Linked DNA regions of Homo sapiens: regions 1, 2 and 3 are each linked to region 4. Evidence: promoter capture Hi-C in 16 types of primary human blood cells and fetal thymus (Javierre and others, 2016). All regions are on one chromosome and are shown on one strand. The core of a region is centred on a gene start or on the middle of the fragment in contact, and the rest is flanking DNA. Distances in the headings are between cores, read along the strand shown. Region 1 overlaps ZNF404 (zinc finger protein 404). Region 2 overlaps ZNF283 (zinc finger protein 283). Region 3 overlaps ZNF235 (zinc finger protein 235). Region 4 holds the start of ZNF284 (zinc finger protein 284).

What was found. The method cuts DNA at HindIII sites, captures the fragments that hold promoters and counts their contacts. A CHiCAGO score of 5 or more calls a contact.
Region 1: a fragment that was not itself captured here is called in contact with the fragment with the promoter of ZNF284 in region 4 in 2 of 17 cell types (non-activated CD4 T cells and total CD4 T cells); the score reaches 5.6 in non-activated CD4 T cells.
Region 2: a fragment that was not itself captured here is called in contact with the fragment with the promoter of ZNF284 in region 4 in 4 of 17 cell types (neutrophils, activated CD4 T cells, M2 macrophages and 1 more); the score reaches 6.2 in neutrophils.
Region 3: a fragment that was not itself captured here is called in contact with the fragment with the promoter of ZNF284 in region 4 in 2 of 17 cell types (total CD4 T cells and fetal thymus); the score reaches 7.9 in total CD4 T cells.

Annotation. Positions count from the first base shown.
Region 1 is chr19:43,869,960-43,872,886 of GRCh38, reverse strand. ZNF404 (zinc finger protein 404) reads left to right here. Exons shown (of 3, transcript NM_001033719.3): 3 at 1-522. The coding sequence ends at 332. Among named protein-coding and RNA genes, the nearest start is that of ZNF404, 13 kb to the left of the region's middle. The HindIII fragment of the contact is 3,147 bases long and covers 1-2,927 here.
Region 2 is chr19:43,845,833-43,848,621 of GRCh38, reverse strand. It overlaps ZNF283 (zinc finger protein 283), which reads right to left. Exons shown (of 7, transcript NM_181845.2): 7 at 1-1,683. Among named protein-coding and RNA genes, the nearest start is that of ZNF283, 20 kb to the right of the region's middle. The HindIII fragment of the contact is 2,596 bases long and covers 148-2,743 here.
Region 3 is chr19:44,286,757-44,289,671 of GRCh38, reverse strand. ZNF235 (zinc finger protein 235) reads left to right here. Exons shown (of 5, transcript NM_004234.4): 5 at 476-2,915. The coding sequence ends at 2,454. Among named protein-coding and RNA genes, the nearest start is that of ZNF235, 17 kb to the left of the region's middle. The HindIII fragment of the contact is 1,866 bases long and covers 691-2,556 here.
Region 4 is chr19:44,070,766-44,073,470 of GRCh38, reverse strand. It overlaps ZNF284 (zinc finger protein 284), which reads right to left and starts at 1,312. Exons shown (of 5, transcript NM_001037813.4): 1 at 1,180-1,312. The HindIII fragment of the contact is 12,821 bases long and covers 1-2,705 here.

The DNA.
Region 1 (2,927 bases), core at 179-2,678, 200 kb after region 4:
AATGTGGAAAAACCTTTAGACTTAATTCTCAACTAATTTATCATCAGACAATTCATACTGGTTTGAAACCCTATGTATGTAAAGAATGTAAGAAGGCCTTTCGTTCTATCTCAGGTCTTTCTCAACATAAGAGAATTCATACTGGTGAAAAACCCTATGAATGTAAAGAATGTGATAAGGCCTTTAATCGCAGTGATCGACTTACTCAACATGAGACAATTCATACTGGTGTGAAACCACAGAAATGCAAAGAATGTGGTAAGGCCTTTAGTCATTGCTATCAACTTAGTCAACATCAAAGATTTCACCATGGTGAGAGACTCTTAATGTAATGAGAGGGAAAGCCTTTAGCCATGGCACATTTTTACTGTTGTCACTATTATGATGCTATAGTGAAGATTAAACTAGTTAATATAGAATATAAATACTTGGAAAGGCATCTGGCACATCGTATTTGCTTACTAAATACATTATTTTTATGATAATTGTTAGAATTACTAAAAATAAATCTTATAGAAGGAAGACCCTATGAGTGTGATATTTTGAAAATGCTCTATCATCACTTCATATAATTTATTCTGGACAAAATCCTGTAGAATATATTAAATGAGAAATTTTTAAATTCAGAATTCATACCCCTGAAGATTAATGCTGGAATAAATAATGTGTATTTATTGAATAATGAAAGGATAGCTGTTGAAAATTAGAGAGTGGTTTAAAGAAATTTTTTCACAAATCCTATAATACAGATAACACATATTTTGCATCCTCTACAATTAAAATAAATTAGAAATGAACAGTTAGGTAGCCAAAAGACAGATATTAACTTGGAAAAGTTTTCCCTAAGTTTATGAAAATGTTAAGATTTACATCCTTACAGAAAAGGTAGCTGTTTACAGTGGTGCAGTGAAGGCTTGTTTGCCCTTCACCTAGTTTCAGTACATCTGATGTCTCTCTTTTTTATGTGTATACTAACACATATATACACACAAATACATATATACCATGCATGTCTTATGTCTATGTATATACACAGATGCATATATATATATATCATACTTATTACACATGAATATATGTATATATTACATATATCACTTTTCCTGTTTTTTGAGTGAATGTTTTAGGTATCATTCACCTCTAAAAAAAAGGCAACATACAACTGCTAGGATCAAAGATAATCTTCTAGATGTCTACTACACCATTGTCACAAAAAAATTAACAGTAACCCTATAATGTCTTAAAATATTCACTCCATTTGCAAATTTCTCCAATTTTTAAAATAATGTCTTTTAGCACTGTCTTTTTCACAAGCCAAGAACCAAACTAATCTCATATATTTTATATGATTATGGCTTATTAAGTCTCTTTTAGTCAAGAGCCTACCCTTCATCATTTTGTGACATAGACTTTTTGAAGACTTTAGATTTGACCTAAATAGTGTTGCACATGCTGTGTTTGTCTTATTGTTTCTGGAGGTGTGATTAACTTGTTTCTTTGTCCTCTATATTTACTGTGACCTGGAGGTTATGATTAGAGGCTTGATTGGGTTTCAGATTAAACATTTTCAAAAGACTACTTCATAGATAGTATCATGTACTTAATATTGTAAAGTATCAGGTGGCCTACAAGTGAAACTATGTTTTATCCCTTGATTCATGTATTGACCACCAGCTCCTTCCATTGTTATGGGTGAATTTTTTCTTTGCAATTAAATAAGTAATCCATGGAAAGTCATGTTGGAAATTTGAACAGTCTTCTGTATTCTATTTTTAGAGATGGGGTATTGCTATGTTGCCCAGGCTGGAATTCAGTGGCTATTCACAGATGTTATATAGCACACTACAGCCTTGAACTCCTGAGCTCAGGCAATCCTCCTGCCTCAACCTCTGGAGTAGCTGGGACTATAGGCACACAGTGCTACACCCAGTTGCTTAAAGAAATTAAGATGAAAATCCTCATCTTTTATATTTACCCATATATTTACTATTTCCCATGCTGTTTATTTCTTTCCAGAGATCTGAATTTTTCTCTGGTATCATTTCCCTACAGTTTGAGGAACTTAACTTAGCATTTCTTGGAGTGAACGTCTGCTGGTGATGAATTTTCATAGTTTCTTTTACTGAAATGCCTTTATTTTTTAAGGATTTCTTCTGGCTATAGAATTCTGGGTTGGCAGTTTTTTGGAGATATATGAATATATGTGTGTGTATATGCACACACACAAAGAATACACACACATATATATACTCATAAAGAGATATATATTGTTTCATATATGTATATATAAATCACCGACTTCTGGTCTTCAAGTCTCCATAGTTTACAAGAAGAAGTCATTTGAATTGTTTTTTCTCTTATGTAATGTGTCCTTTTTCTCTGGGTGCTTTCCAGATTTTCTTATTACTTTTGGTTTTCAGCTGTTTGAGTATGAGGTGCCTAGGTATGGTTTTCTTTGTGTTAATTCTGCTTGGGGTACTCTGAGCCTCTGAAATTTGCACACATGTGCCTTTCACCAAATTCCAGAAATTCTTGGCCATTATATCTTCAAATATTTTTTCTGCATTTACTCTACTCATACGTTAAATCTTTTGGTACTGTCCCACAGGTCACTGTCTTTGTTATTTATCTTCAGTATTTTTTTTCTGTTCTTCAGCTTGGACAACTTCTGTTACTCTGTTTTCAAATTCACTTATTCTTTTTCTCTGTCATTTCAGTTCTGCTGCTAAGCCTATCTATCAAATTGTTTAATTTCAGATATTACATTTTTCAGTTCTAGAATTTTCCTTTAGTACTTTTATAGTTCCTATTTCTTTACTAAGATTGCCTATTTCTTCATTGCATGCATCTTTTCACAAGGCTTTTCAGTCCTGTTAAAATCCTCTATATATTGATTCATGCTAGAAAAATATATAAAATCATTATTA
Region 2 (2,789 bases), core at 196-2,695, 220 kb after region 4:
CAATTTTCTCATTTGAGTAAGTTGTCCACAGAAAGGCTTCCCCACATTCGTTATATTTGTAGGGTTTATCATTACTATGAGTTCTCTCATGAACAAGTTTTGAGCCACAAGTAAAGGTCTTCCCGAATTCCTTACGTTGATAAAGCTTCTCACCAGTATGAAATCTCTGATGAACACTAAGTTGATAGCCACTACCAAAGGCCTTCCCACAGTCTTTACATTCATAAGACTTCTCATTAGTATGGACTCTCTCATGCTTAACTAGGCTTGAACCCCAACTGAAGGCCTTCCCACATTCCTTACATTTGAAAGGTTTCTCACCGGTATGAATTTTCTGATGTTGAGTAAGGTGATAGCCACGACTAAAAGCCTTCCCACATTCTTTACATTCATAGGGTTTCTCCCCTGTATGGATTCTTTCATGTTGAACAAGGCTTGATCCACAATTAAAAGCCTTCCCACATTCCTTACATTCATAGGGTTTCTCACCAGTGTGAAATACCTGATGTCGAGTAAGTTGATACCCACTACAAAAGGTCTTTCCGCATTCTTTACATTCATGGGATTTCTCACCAGTATGAACTCTCTCATGTTTAACAAGGCTTGAACCCCAACTAAAGGCCTTCCCACATTCCTTACATTCAAAAGGTTTCTCACCAGTATGGATTTTCTGATGTTGAGAAAGGTGATAGCCACGACTAAAGGCCTTTCCACATTCTTTACATTCATAAGGTTTCTCACCAGTATGAATTCTTTCATGTTGAATAAGACTTGATCCGCAATTAAAAGCCTTCCCACATTCCTTGCATTCATAGGGTTTCTCACCAGTATGAAATATCTGATGTCGAGTAAGTTGATAGCCCCAACAAAAAGCCTTTCCACATATTTTACATTCATAAGGTTTCTTACCAGTATGGATTTTCTGATGCTGAGTAAGCTGATAGCCACGACTGAAGGCCTTCCCACATTCTTTACATTTATAAGGTTTCTCACCTGTATGAATTATCTCATGTTTAGCAAGGCTTGAGCCCCAAAAAAAGGCCTTCCCACATTCCTTACATTTATAAGATTTCACACCAGTATGAATTTTCTGATGTTGGGTAAGGTGATAGCCACGACTAAAGGCCTTCCCACATTCTTTACATTCATAGGGTTTCTCACCAGTGTGAATTCTCTCATGTTTAACAAGGCTTGATCCCCAGCTAAAGGTCTTCCCACATTCCTTACACTCATAGGGTTTCTCACCAGTATGAAATCTCTGATGCACATTGAGTTGATAGGCACTTAAATAATTCTTCCCACATTCTTTACATTCAAAGTGTTTTTCAGCTGTATGAGTTCTCTCATGTTGAACAAGTTTTGAGCCATGACTGCAAGCCTTCCCACATTCCTTACAAACATAGGATTTCTCTGTATTATGAATTCTTTGATGTGGAGTAAGAGATTTACTTTTTCTGTAAGAAGGTATTTTTTCATAGCTGATTATCATTTGACTGAAGTATCCCTCTTGATGTCCTTTTAGTCCCTCGAATATGCTTTTGCACTTCCAATTATTTCTGAAGATGGATGCCTCAAGGCCAAGGGTTTTACTTTTGTCCTTCATCTCCCACTGGGAAAAATTTATTTCAAAAATATCATTTTCTGAAAATATTTTTTTGGTCTCATACGTTTTTGACTCCAAATCTGAAAGAAAACAAGAAAACCACACATTTTATTTCCTTCACTAGGGAAAAAAAAAAAAAAACTACAGTAGAAATAAAAGACAAATTAGGAGACTTACTGAACTCACTCCTTGGCATTAAGGCACTCCCTTGTTAAATAACAAACTCAGCCTTGATTTTGCAGCTCTTGTGATCTGAATGTTCTGATTTTATAGTTTTCTGGAGGATTCCACAGAGGTCGCTTCAACAAGTCCCTCATTTTCCCACGCTGATGTTCCCTCAAACCAAATGTCAGCTTCCATCAATCAAGCCCTTATGTGCCCAGTTGTGGTCATCCAATGTATCTTAATGGGAATCAAATTCTTATCATAATGAGCTTTGGCTGATTTTGTTTTGTCTAACAACTCTTTTGTCTAACAACTCAATGGTCGCAACTCTGCCATTTTATCAAGGCAGCCATGGGCAATATGTAAACATATAAACAAATGGGCAAGACTATGTTCCAATACAACTTTATTTGCAAAAACAGGTGGATTTGGCCTCCAGAGCCAGAGTTTTCCAACCCCTGAGATAAAGCAAACATTGCTTTCATAAATGTTCACAATTGTAAAAATATAAAGTTCAATTAAATTTTACATTTACTTAGATTTATTAGCCAGAATTTTTATAAAAGGATTGATTTTTATAACTTCATATAATGCTGCAATTATGTGACTCTATAGATTTTACCTTATTTAAAAATTTTAAATGTCTATCAATTTTAAAAATCAACAGTAATTGTATTGCTATTTAAGGATCACTTTAAATTATAAGATCTCCAATTCACTTAGACAAAATGATCTTGAGAGTTACTAATAAATAATTTCTGGTTGCATAAAAAGTTCCTAAGAAGATATTCATAAAAGAGGAAGAACAAATATTTTGAGTTATTTTTCAATTAAGTTTACTTATTTCTTGACCATTGTTAAACATATTTTCACTCAACTAAGCTCAAACTACCCTGTCAAAAATCAATGTGATACACACATCATCTTATAACACATTAATACTGTTAATTATATTTTAAAATTGAAAATAAAGCTTTAAATTATAGTGTCATTCAGCATGGTATATTGACAATATTAGCAG
Region 3 (2,915 bases), core at 374-2,873, 220 kb before region 4:
GTTTCTACCTCTTGTCCTATTCTTAGATCTGTAGTTCTGTGTTTCGAGAGGCAAATAAAATCCAGGAAAATCTGTGATGGTAAAGATAAGCTGAAAGTTTCCATCATGAACTAAAGCCTGATACCGAAGGAACTATGTGTAAAATTTGGAAACATCTGGACAAAGCATTCACTTTGGAGTTGTGTATACTGGAGAATACACACAGGCAGCAAGACTCATACTCAGAAAAGACCCAAGATACACCTTAACCATACCCTGGGCTGATCTCAAATTTTCTATCTTAAATATGGCTTTTTAAAACATTTGGTGTTCTCTTGGTTGCAGCTGCTTTTCAGAGTTCCTATAAATTTATTTCAGCCAGTCTAGTTGTTTTTTTGACGTTTCCATGGGGAAAATGAGAGCTTAGATCTTAATTCTCTACTTTGCTAATGTCAGTCTCTTGGTCCTTTATTCCTTATTCTCTCTATCCTTTCAGGAGACAGGAATCAAAATGAGATGGCAACTCTTCACAAAGCAGGATTAAGGTGCTTTTCACTGGGAGAGCTTTCATGCTGGCAAATCAAGAGACACATTGCGAGCAAATTAGCCAGAAGTCAAGACTCCATGATAAATATTGAAGGAAAGAGCTCTCAGTTCCCCAAGCACCATGATTCCCCCTGTCAAGTGGGAGCAGGAGAATCTATTCAAGCTTCTGTGGATGACAACTGTCTAGTGAATCACATAGGGGATCATTCCAGTATCATTGAAAATCAAGAATTTCCAACTGGGAAAGTTCCGAATTCTTGGAGTAAAATATATCTGAATGAGACACAGAATTATCAGAGAAGTTGTAAGCAGACTCAGATGAAAAACAAACTATGTATATTTGCTCCATATGTTGACATTTTCAGTTGTATTTCACACCACCATGATGATAATATAGTGCACAAAAGAGATAAAGTTCATAGCAATAGTGATTGTGGTAAAGATACCCTAAAGGTATCACCTCTTACCCAGCGTAGTATTCACACAGGACAGAAAACCTACCAGGGTAATGAATGTGAAGAAGCCTTCAATGATAGCTCCAGTCTTGAACTTCATAAACAGGTACACTTGGGAAAGAAGTCTCCAGCGTGTAGTACACATGAGAAGGACACCAGTTATAGCTCAGGTATTCCTGTTCAACAAAGTGTTCGTACTGGGAAAAAACGCTATTGGTGTCATGAATGTGGTAAAGGTTTCAGTCAGAGCTCAAATCTGCAAACTCATCAGAGAGTCCACACAGGGGAGAAACCCTATACATGCCACGAGTGTGGTAAGAGCTTTAATCAGAGCTCACATCTTTATGCTCATTTGCCTATTCACACAGGAGAGAAGCCCTATAGATGTGACAGTTGTGGGAAGGGCTTCAGTCGTAGCACAGATCTTAACATTCATTGCAGAGTTCACACTGGAGAGAAACCTTATAAATGTGAGGTGTGTGGGAAGGGCTTCACTCAGAGATCACATCTTCAGGCCCATGAAAGAATTCACACTGGAGAGAAACCATATAAATGTGGGGATTGTGGTAAACGCTTTAGTTGTAGCTCAAATCTTCATACCCATCAGAGAGTCCACACTGAAGAAAAACCATACAAATGTGATGAGTGTGGTAAGTGCTTTAGTTTGAGCTTTAATCTTCATAGTCATCAACGAGTCCACACAGGAGAAAAACCATATAAATGTGAAGAGTGTGGTAAGGGTTTTAGTTCAGCCTCAAGTTTCCAGAGCCATCAGAGGGTCCATACAGGAGAGAAACCATTTCGATGCAACGTGTGTGGGAAAGGCTTCAGTCAGAGTTCATACTTTCAAGCACATCAGAGAGTCCACACTGGAGAAAAACCATACAAATGTGAAGTGTGTGGGAAGCGCTTCAATTGGAGCTTGAATCTTCACAATCATCAGAGAGTCCACACCGGAGAGAAACCCTACAAATGTGAAGAGTGTGGTAAGGGTTTCAGTCAGGCTTCAAATCTTCAAGCCCATCAGAGCGTCCACACTGGGGAAAAACCATTCAAGTGTGATGCATGTCAGAAGCGATTCAGTCAGGCCTCACACCTTCAAGCCCATCAGAGAGTCCACACCGGAGAGAAACCATATAAATGTGACACTTGTGGTAAGGCCTTCAGCCAGAGGTCAAATCTTCAAGTCCATCAGATAATTCACACTGGAGAGAAACCATTTAAATGTGAGGAATGTGGGAAAGAATTCAGTTGGAGTGCTGGTCTCAGTGCCCATCAGAGGGTCCACACAGGAGAGAAACCCTATACGTGTCAGCAGTGTGGGAAGGGCTTCAGTCAGGCCTCACATTTTCACACACACCAGAGAGTCCACACTGGAGAGAGGCCTTACATATGTGATGTCTGTTGTAAGGGCTTCAGTCAGAGGTCACATCTCATCTACCATCAGAGAGTCCACACTGGAGGGAATCTGTAGAAATGAGAGGTGTGGTTCAGCCTTCAGTTAGAGCTCACATCTTTGTCTCCGTTGGGAAGTCCATGCTGATGATTGTGAAAAGTTCCTTTAAAACTAGAAGCTTCAAAGAATCTTGACAGGAAAGAAGTCTCTCAAATGCTGTGTTTTAGACTTGGTTAGGACATGAATTCTTTACAAACGTCATATTTCACAGATGCGAGAAAACTTTGTTCTGTAAATATGATCAGTGTTTATATCAGAGTACCAGGTGTCCCGGTTCTCAAGATGTAACACAGCAGAAAAGTCTTGTCGGAGTCTGCACAGGAGAGAGGCCTTCCTTTAACAAAAGTATGATTGACAGAAAAAATGGATGTCAACTAAAATGTAACCTCTATGTAAGGAGGTGTTTTTCACCACTCTATCTCTACCATGTAGAATTGTGCTTGGCTCATAATAGGGCCCAGCAATTACTGAAGAAAGTG
Region 4 (2,705 bases), core at 63-2,562:
TCTCCAATTTCTGAACGCTCCACAATCATACCGCTGCATAACAAGTGAAATATTTGTAATAAATGAAATAGTTCTAATGAATGAAATAGTTGATAAACTCCCAGAACAGTCCAAGCCCATAAGCCTTGCTCTCAAGGCTCCCTTCAATCAAGTCCTAGCTTGCTTTCCCCACTAGATTCCAGCTAGTTCCTCTGCCTCAATGAGAATGTATCCAAAAGATTATCAACTAAGGCTCTGACCTGTAACGCCCAGGTTTCAACCGCAGCTCCACCTCTTACTGCTTAGGTGACTATTCTCAGATAACTCCTGCTCCTTTGTATCTCACTCATCTTTAAAACTGAAAAAAGTAGTACCTCTCCACAGAGCCACGGTGTGGCGAAAATGTGACTACTTGTATAAAGCTCTTGGGATAAAGTTACCAATTGAGGCTTAATTATTATCAACACCCATGCCTGAGGACACATCCTACACTCTTGGTCGGGGTGAGCATCTCTGTAAAAGAAAAAAAGCCAAGGACCACTCTCGTGGAACTTTGCCCTCAGTAGCCAAGAAGTCCCTCCCTGCAGCTCTTTTTGAGAATCAGGCTGGGGAAGGAGAAAGCTGTGAAACACCCTGACCGCATTGCCGTCCGGCATAAAAGTTAAATGTTCCTCTCCCTTCGTGGAAATGGAAACAACCCTCGCCTTCCTAAAAAGAGGTCAGAAGCGTCCGGGATCACCCAGCGTCCTGCAGGAATCAGAGACAAGGGCGGGGATCCCTGCAGATGGAGCTCTGACCCCACCCGGGGACCTGACAGGCTTCGTGGGAAATAAACACTAAGAAGAGACCACCAGTCACTAAGGGAGGGGCTGCTTTAAGGCTTTCATTTGTGTTACCTCTTCCAGTTCCCAAAACGATTTCATTAGGATGGTCCTAAAGTCCCCATTTTAAAGAACAGCAGTGGGAGGTACAGGGAGATTAATAACATCCCAACCCTAAATTGTGAGAAAGTAGCCTCACAGGTGGGATGGAGGGAGGCGGACTGAGCGAGCTGAGAGCCCCAAAAACCCTCAAACCAGGCGAGACGCGTCCCGACCAAGTCCCAACCCCCAGCCTCATGCCCGGGGACGCGAGGACAGCCCCAAGACCAAGAAGGCTCCGCTGACAAGAACGAAAAGAGAGGCCGTTGTCCCTCCAAACCTCCGTTTTCCAACGAGACTCCTTCTCCCCTTAGTCAACTTCCAGGTGGTTGCGAGCCAGCATCGTAAGGGGACACGTTTAGAAGGACCGACAAGACACAGGACTGACACCAAACTACCACCGAATGCACTGCAGCAACCTCGCCCCCCGGGAGCGGAAGTGCCCCTACCCCGCGCAGCGTGTGAACTACATTTCCCAGAATTCCCCGGATACGCCGTCCTGAGCCTACTTGCTCGTCATTCAACAGATCTCCTGCGCTACACTTCCTTGAATCTCAAAGGAGACGTTCTATAGTATCACCTTCCGGCGGGAAGCGTGGGACTCCGCGGTGCTCTTTGACTACACTTCCTGCAATGCCCACGAGGAATGAATCCCATAGACCCAAGCGCCTGGTTTGGAATATGGACTGTGGCCCTGAGAGTGGTCCTTCCCTCTCCCTGCGTCCTCGAGAGAAAATATTGAATAGACAGGAATTCCTGAAGTCTACACGCCTCCCATGATGACAGGAGTGTTACTGAAAGAGAACAAAGCAAGGAGATACAATCTTCAAGGAGTTAGCGGGGAGTGACTGTGGAGCGGTCAGGAGATGGCTGAAAGGCTAATATACTAGACGCTAATAGTATGAGGCTAAATCTAAGAGCTTAAATAATGGGCCAGGAAAAATGGTTTGGGAGAGGCATTGAGTGGGGCACCAGCCCCTGGTACAACCAGACACTGTTGTACCACTGGTTTGGCAAGAAAAACAACCACAGTTTAAGTGTTTAAGAGGGCTGTAAGAGTTAAAGAGAAAAAAAAAAAAAACACGAAAAGCGGCTCAACAGTCAAAGACAGGTTCGTTTTGGAGAATAAACCGAGAGGGCCTTCTGGCCGATTGCAGTCAGGAGCGCTCTCTCTTACGGACTAAGAGTATGTATTGGCTTTAGGGAGAGAGAGCTTACCACAGGCTTAGAATGTTTCTGTATTGGGGAGAAGTCTGTTGTGGGGTTGGAATATCTCTGGTTGGAGGGGAAGTTATCTTGGGACTGACATCTCTCCAATGGAAGGGAGGTTATCTCGGTGCTGGCATGTCTCTGGTCAGGGAGGGGTTTATCTTATGGTTGGAATGTTTCTGATTGGAGATGTCATTTGTGGTTTATGGTCATGCTGACCTTAGCCATTAGGCTGATGCCCTTTGGATTTAGGCAGTTTTTGATCAACGCGAACTTTAAAATGGCAGTGTTTGTCCAAGATGGCGATGCTCCTGCCCTGTCAAGGGCCAATATGGAGGGCCAATTGCCCTCCTGGAAAAGCTATCTTCCCACTTTTAAAGTTTTCATATTAATATTCTTTAGACGTGGAAATGCCACATTTAAGAGAAATTAAACTGCTTAGTATTGTGAAAGGAAAATATCTTGGGCCCCCAAAATCACTAAGGAAATCTCAAGCTGGAAATCGCTTAGGGCAAACCTGCCTCCCATTCTATTCAAAGTCACTCCTCTATCTGTCCTTGCTATCACGAGAACAGCATGGGAAAGACCCACTCCCAT